Linked DNA regions of Homo sapiens: region 2 is linked to region 1. The links are contacts of gene promoters, found by promoter capture Hi-C in blood cells and fetal thymus (Javierre and others, 2016). All regions are on one chromosome and are shown on one strand. Each heading gives the region's core, a stretch centred on a gene start or on the middle of the fragment in contact. The rest is flanking DNA. Distances are from core to core; before and after follow the strand shown.

Region 1 (4,111 bases), core at 251-2,750:
ATGAAAGGTCAGCTCCCGGTCCCAGAGAACTTGGCAACTCGGTTCTGTGACGCTAAAAGGGTGGCGTTGGGGGGGCGGGTGCTGGGCTGCATGGGGAGAAGGGAAAAGTAGGATCCGCTTCACTGTGAAGTGAGTCCCACCACCAACTCCAGCAATCCCTGCCCACAAGTAGGATGGCGGGTCCCTGGGAAGGGAGCACGCCATGTCCTGTGCCAGTCAGGGAGCTCAGGGCACTGTGATATAGCTGAAGTGCTGAGTAGAATTCGGGGTGCAGAGCTGCGGGTGGCTGGTGGGGTGCTGGGGCGCGCAAGGAGGCTGGAGGCGGGGGTGGGGGGGTGCCCAGCCCCAAGTCCTACAGCGGCTGCTGGAGGAGTGAGATGAGCACATAGTGAGTGGCTGTGCTGGTGGAATTAGACAGAGGTGCCCCAAGTCAGGAACCTAGAGCCCTGAGCGCTCCATGGGGAAGGAGAACAGCCCCCACGGTGAAGGGGTGAGGGCGGTGTGTAGGCACACACAGAATCTTCCAGCTGGAAGAGACCTTCAATGTCATTTCATTCAACCTCCCACCTCATGAAATCTTTCAGTCTTCCAGTGCCCAACTGAGGACACCCAACTCTACTTGGACACCTCAAGGTACGGGGAACTCACTCCCTTCAAGGCAGCTCATCTCAGAGAGGCTTTGGAGCCTGCGGGACGGCCAGGAGGAGCCTGGCGCTCCGACCTTGGCCCTGTAGAGCAGAGTGGCCTCTACTCCGCGGCGGCACCTGGCTGGGGGTTGCGGCGCGGTTGGGCCAGCGCTGCTGTCCCCAGCCCCAGTGCTGAGGCAGGCAGAGCGCAGTGGGCTCTGGCGGAGGTCGGGAGAACTGCAGGGCGAAGGCCGCCGGGGGCTCCGCGGGCTGCGGGGGGAGGCACTTGACACCGGCCCGGGGAGAGGAGGGGCCGCTGTCCCTGCGGCCAGTGCTGGATGCGGGGACCCAGCGCAGAAGCAGCGCCAGGTAGCGGGGCGCCCAGCGTGGGGAGGGCTGCGGCGAGGCCCGGAGCTCGGCTACGACTCGAGGGGCTCTGAGTGGCCGGGAGCGCGGCCGAGGCGGGGCGCCCGGGGCCCGGCCCCCGGTCTGGGCGGTGCGGGGTCCAGACCTCCGCCAAGCGGCGTGCGGGGACCCCGGCGGGGCCGCAGAGGCCGGGAAGTCGCGCCGAGGGCGCTAGGACCGGCCGCGCGCCCAGGCCGCTCCCGCCGCGGCGCCCCGGGGCCCCCCAGTCGGCGCTGCCTCCCGGGCCGGCTCCGCAGCGCCGGGGCCGGGGCCAGCGCGGCCGCGGGGGGCGAGCGGCGGGCGGAGGCCTGGGCCCGCGGGCGGCCGGAGGGAGGGAAGGAGGAAGGCGGAGAGAAGGGGTGGGAGGGGGGGACCCGGCGGAGGAGGCGGAGAGAGGGAGCGCGACAGCGAGCGGAGGGAGGGAGCGAGCGAGCGAGGCAGGCAGGCGGGCCGGGAGGGAGGGAGGGCGCGCGGGCGGCGGCGGCGGCGAGAGCAGAGGACGAGCCGGGACGCGGCGCCGCGGCACCAGGGCGCGCAGCCGGGCCGGCCCGACCCCACCGGCCATACGGTAATGAGCGCCGCTGCTGGCGGCCCGGAAGGCCGGCCCGGAGGCGGCGGGGAGCCGGGGAGCCGGGCGGGGGGCGCCGCGGCTGGCAGTGCCCGGCTCGGGGCACGCTCCCGGACCCCTGCAACTCGGCGCCGGGCGCCCGTGGGGCCGGGACTGCAGGCGGGGACGGCGGGCCGGGCTGGCCGGGGCGGCGCGGGGGATTTGAGGGTTTGTTTATGTCCCCGCGGGCTCGGCAGGCGCCCCCTCCCGTCCCGCCCGCTCCCGGCGCGGACCCCCCTCCCCGCCCCCGCCCGGCTCCGGGCTCAAGTTCAAGTCTATACAATGCCGCGGGGGGCCCCTCCACCGCCGGCCTGCGCCGCGGTGCCCGGCTCGCCGCTGCCGCAGGGGCCCCGGCCGGGCCGCCCCCGCCTTCCGGGCTCTGCCCCAGCCCCGCGGCCCCGCCTGGAGCCCGCGGCCAGGGCGCCGGAGGGCGCGGACCCCGACCCAGAAGGATCGGCCCCCGCGGCGGCCCGGGGGAGCGGGGGAGGGGGCGGGGGCCGGGCCCCGCGCAGGCTCCGCGGCGGCGGCAGAAAATGGCAGCCTGGCACGACCCGGCCCCCCGCCCCTCCCCCCGGCGCCCGGCCCTCCTCGGCCCCGCGGGGCGGGGGACCCGGGAGGCCCCCGGGGGCGGGCCGAGGGGTGATGGCGGGGCCGGGCCGGGGAGCGCCGCGCCGCGATCCTCCTCCGGCCACCTGTGGCTGGGGGTGCGGGGCGCCGGCGGGGCCGGGAGGGGCGGCGGGGCCGGGGAGAGCGCCCGCCTTGGGGGCACACCTTCCCCCGGAGTGCCGGCGGCACGGAGAGGGGTGGTCGTGCCCGGCTCCTCCCTGTCCCCACCGCGGGCCGTGGGTGCCCGGGCGGCCGCGGTGGCGGCGCCGCAATGTGGGGGCGGGGCGGGGGCGGGCGAGGATCCCGGGCCCGGGCCCGGGCCGCGGGGGCCGGAAAACGCGGGGGTGGAAGTAGCGGGGCCGGGACCGGGAGCGGCGCAGGGGGGGTACGCCCGGGGTCGCCCCTCCAGCACCCCCGCGCACACTCCCACGCACGCGGACACACTCACGCACACGCACCCCGCCGGGCCGGTGCAGACGTGTCCTTGAAAGCTTCGCATCTGCACAGTGAAGGACGAGGCCTCGCCGCGGCTGCGGAGCGGGGTCTTCGGCCCCACGTCCCCGCACCCCGGGAGACCTCGAGCTTCGGAGCCGCAGGCGGCGGCTGTCCGTGTCCCGCCCTCACCCCAGTTCCCCTCCCCCAGGCCGCCCTGCCTTCCCTCCCCTTCGGCGCGGACCGGGCTGGCGCGGGTCCAGGGCCCGCCCCTGGCCTCCCCCAGCCCCTCATCGCTGGGGCCCGCGGCCCTGGGGCTGCCAAACTGCTTTTCGCTTTCCTGAAGCCTCCCTTCTTGGGGGCACCCTCTCCCACCCCAGCGCCCCTCTGCCATTTCTCCCCCTCTCCTCATCCCCTCCGTCCTGGCACCCTCTCTCCGCTGCACGGCCAGTTGAGGAGGTGTTGGCGCCCTGGGCGGGGAGCAGTGCCCTCTGGTTCCCAGGGGCTGCCTCCCCCGGCTCCTGAGGGGAGCCCCCTGCGGCTGCACCTTGACCCAACATGGCGTCTGGCACCCAGCAGGGCAGCTCTGGCCTGCGGCAGGCGGGAGGGTGGGCAGGGCCGAGCCCCAGGGCCGCGCAGCTACCCCCCCTCCAAACCAGCGGGGACAGAAGCCTTGGGGAGAAGCGCTGTCCGCCCTGTGACCCAACTTGCCCCTCACTGCCGTGCCCAGAGACTGCCATCAGCATCCCTGAGGGCCTGCTCAGTCTTCATGTTTCACCCTAGGCTGCCAGCGGCTGAACCCGCCTCCTGGGCGGGCGGCTACGAAGGGATCCTGGGATCAGGTGCTGCTCCAGTGTCGCCTCCTCCCTCGCGGGCAGATGTGACAGCTGCAGCCAGGGGAGCTATTCGCCTTGCTATTGCCTGGGTGTTAGGACTGGCCTGTGGGATTTGGGGGGCCAGGCATCCCGGGGACCCTCTTTGGTTGGCTAGCAGGGGCCATCTCCAGGTAGTTTTCTGAGCTGCCTGCCTTTGGAGAGTTGGGTTGTAGGGAGTTCCTGCTGGGTTTCTGGGGCAAAATGGTCCCCCTCTGCCTCCAGGTTCTACCGAGGCCCTGCTTGGGCTGTGACAGGTGGCTCTGTCAAGGTGGGAGTCTGTGTGTGCACATGTGCTGGCTCCAGGCGAGGGACCAGGCTGGCCTGTGCAGCAGCTCTGGCACCTGCCTGCCTCCCTGGTGGGTCCCCCTCCTCTGTGCAGCTCCTCCCCAGATAAGCAGCTGCGGATTCAGGCCGACCAAACTTCCCTCGTTACCCCACCCAGGCACCAGTGCCTTCCATAGGAGACTGACCCTAAGAAAGGTGAATTCCTTCTAGACTCAAGGAGTGGACTGGTCCACAGGGCTGCCCTCTGAGTCCTTCCTGGAGAAGCCTAGGAAAGG
Region 2 (3,645 bases), core at 258-2,757, 300 kb before region 1:
ATAGGTGAAATCTCACATTGGGGGCCAATCCTATCTACAGTGGTCTTAAAATTCAAGGAGACTTCATTTGCAGCAATTAAAATGAGAACAAAATGTGATTTATAGACTCATGTATAATTTTAGGCTTTGTTCTAGTTACTCTGGCCATATATCGCTTACCCCTCAAACAGTCATTCTATTTATGCGTTTTGTGGGTCTAGACTCAGAACAGCGTTCAGTGCTGACATCTTGACTTTGCTTCATGATGCCTGAGGTCTCAGCAGAAGACTCAAAGGCTTAGGGCTTGAATCATTTGAAGGCTCGCTCGCCTGCGCGTTTGGCAGTCGATGCTGGTTTGGTTGGTGGACTCAGTTCTTCTTCGTACGATCTTCTCACTGTGGCCTCTCCACATCAGTCTGGGCTTTCTCACGGTATGGCATCTGGGCTCCCAGCACAAGCATCCCGGAAGAGCAAGAGCAGAGCAAGCTATGCCGTCTGTTATCATCTATCTCCAGAAGTCCCGCACTGTACTTCTGCCGCATTCTGTGCCGCGAGGCCGTCACAGTGTCCTGGTCAGATTCACATGGAAGGAAAGAATCTCTAGACCTTGATGGAGAGGGACAACATACTAGAAGTACATAAAATACTGTTCTGAAAATATTGTTGTGGCTTTTTTTTTTTTTTGGAAAATACAGGCTGCCACAGACTGGAAGGGGACCTTTCAGGCAACCGGTCCGTTCCCTCATTTCCCAAATGAGGACACTTATGTGCAGAGGCACGCCGCATGGCCACAGCCACGGGGCATGGCCACAGTCGTATTCTGTGGTTGGTCAGGCTGGGACAGGAATGCAGCTTTTCTGACTCTAGGCTTGGGTCTTTCTCACGATGCTGCCCTACTCCCCTTTCCTAATCATAGTTCACTCACTCACCTCATAAGTGTTCCTCCCCCTGGAGTTTTCTCCGATGAGCAGACAGGATATCAGGAGCTAGACTAGCAGAGTTCCTGCACATACTGGAGATGCACGTGTTTCCTATCCTTTTCTCCCTCTGTTGTTGTTTTAATTGACCCACCGTTTTTAAGAAGTCCTAGCTGACTGGTATACTATGACAATACAATAGAATGGAGTCATTTCCTAGCGTTTGGAAACTAAATGGTAAATCTAGTTGAGCATTTCTGTTTGCCTTTTTTCAGGTGCTCAGAATTTTGATGTCATACGACTATCAACTTACAGAACAGCCTGCAAATTACGATTTGTACAAAAACGATGCAACCGTGAGTCATTTCTACTCATTTCTGTGATAGCTGGATAGAGTTCTCAATATTAGAAAAGACTTTAACATCTTTTAGTTGTATTGTAATGTTAATTGAATTATTTTTGTCTTAAGTATTTATTAGTATGTAAGCTTTGTAATGGAAGAACTTGTCATTTTACTTCTTTGTCCTTCAAAATGTTTAACAAACTCAGTCATGTAACTAGTTTTGAGGCTGTTGTAGTATTAATGTTCTTTAAATGGGAGAATGGATTTCTCTGTCACTTTTATTAAGGAAATGCTTTATGTAAAATTAATACAATTTATCAGCTGCTGGAGGAAAAGAAAAACAATGTTTTTGATAAAGGTATAATTGGAATTGATTTTCTTCATTAAGCTTAATGTAACATGAATCAACCTTTTCTATAAATAATTGCTACCATGTGGATCATAAAATAAAGTGTGTGTGTGTCTGTATATATGTATATGTATGTCTGTGTGTGTATATACTTAATCTTTCTTCTCTTTATTTCCATGAAGATGAACTAGCTCGTGACAGAATTATTGTACTTTTCTCGTGTTTGTGTGTATCAGTGGAAAAAGTATTTTATACAATGGAAAGAGCATTAACCTTAGAATTGAAAAACCTTGGTTTTAGTTTTTATTTATTTATTTTTTATTATACTTTAAGTTCTAGGGTACATGTGCACAACGTGCAGGTTTGTTACATATGTATACATGTGCCATGTTGGTGTGCTGCACCCATTAACTCGTCATTTACATTAGGTATATCTCCTAATGCTATCCCTCCCCCTCCTGCCATCCCATGACAGGCCCCGGTGTGTGATATTCCCCTTCCTGTGTCCAAGTGTTCTCATTGTTCAATTCCCACCAGTGAGTGAGAACATGTGGTGTTCACTTTTCTGTCCTTGCGATAGTTTGCTGAGAATGATGACTTCCAGCTTCATCCATGTCCCTACAAAGGACATGAACTCATCCTTTTTTATGGCTGCATAGTATTCCATGGTGTATATGTGCCACATTTTCTTAATCCAGTCTATCATTGATGGGCATTTGAGTTGGTTCCAAGTCTTTGCTGTTGTGAATAGTGCTGCAATAAACATACGTGTGCATGTGTCTTTATAGCAGCCTGATTTATAATCCTTTGGGTATATACCCAGTAATGGGATTGCTGGGTCAAATGGTATTTCTAGTTCTAGATCCTTGAGGAATCGCCACACTGTCTTCCACAATGGTTGAACTAGTTTACAGTCCCACCAGCAGCGTAAAAGTGTTCCTATTTCTCCACATCCTCTCCAGCACCTGTTGTTTCCTGACTTTTTAATGATTGCCATTCTAACTGGCATGAGATGGTATCTCATTGTGGTTTTGATTTGCATTTCTCTCATGGCCAGTGATGATGAGCATTTTTTCATGTGTCTGTTGGCTGCATAAATGTTTTCTTTTGAGAAGTGTCTGTTCATATCCTTCGCCCACTTTTTGATGGGGTTGTTTGATTTTTTCTTGTAAATTTGTTTAAGTTCTTTGTAGATTCTGGATATTAGCCCTTTGTCAGATGGGTAGGTGGCAAAAATTTTCTCCCATTCCGTAGATTGCCTGTTCACTCTGATGGTAGCTTCTTTTGCTGTGCAGAAGCTCTTTAGTTTAATTAGATCCCATTTGTCAATTTTGGATTTTGTTGCCATTGCTTTTGGTGTTTTAGACATGAAGTTCTTGCCCATGCCTGTGTCCTGAATGGTATTGCCTAGGTTTTCTTCTAGGGTTTTTATGGTTTTAGGTCTAACATTTAAGTCTTTAATCCATCTTGAATTAATTTTTGTATAAGGTGTAAGGAAGGGATCCAGTTTCAGCTTTTGACATATGGCTAACCAGTTTTCCCAGTACCATTTATTAAATAGGGAATCCTTTCCCCATTTCTTGTTTTCGTCAGGTTTGTCAAAGATCAGATGGTTGTAGATGTGTGCTATTATTTCTGAGGGCTCTGTTAGACCTGGTTTTGCCATTTATTATAAACAAATAATCTTGGGCAAATCACGTTACAGCTGATAAATTCTACTCTACTTTAAGTCTTACTCACAAATCTTAACTTAAAATTCTCTCCGAAGAGTTTATCATGCCATCCTAGATCGAAGTGATGTTTCTTTCTCCAGTGGTTTCTCAAAGCATTATTTTTTACATTGTGAGTTGTTACCCATTAATGCTTCATGAAATCATTTTGATGGGCTGTAGCCAGAATTAAAAACATATAATAGGAAAAAAAAGGAAGAAAAATAAAATATTAGAATGCAACTTATGTGGTAAGGCTAAATGTGTTCTGATATCTGGATGTATCTATGTGTTTGTGTGTGTACATGATGATTTAAATATATTTCTGTGATGATTTAAATATATTTA

The links. The method cuts DNA at HindIII sites, captures the fragments that hold promoters and counts their contacts. A CHiCAGO score of 5 or more calls a contact.
Region 2: a contact is called between a fragment that was not itself captured here and the fragment with the promoter of DNMT3A in region 1, in 1 of 17 cell types (M1 macrophages). The highest score is 5.2, in M1 macrophages.

The regions. Positions count from the first base shown.
Region 1 is chr2:25,339,314-25,343,424 of GRCh38, reverse strand. It overlaps DNMT3A (DNA methyltransferase 3 alpha), which reads left to right and starts at 1,500. Exons shown (of 23, transcript NM_022552.5): 1 at 1,500-1,599. RefSeq lists an enhancer at 588-707 and silencers at 828-1,307, 1,368-1,577, 1,868-2,037, 2,138-2,377, 2,658-2,777. The HindIII fragment of the contact is 8,821 bases long and covers 1-2,737 here.
Region 2 is chr2:25,636,621-25,640,265 of GRCh38, reverse strand. It overlaps DTNB (dystrobrevin beta), which reads left to right. Exons shown (of 21, transcript NM_021907.5): 3 at 1,172-1,252. Among named protein-coding and RNA genes, the nearest start is that of DTNB, 35 kb to the left of the region's middle. The HindIII fragment of the contact is 244 bases long and covers 1,386-1,629 here.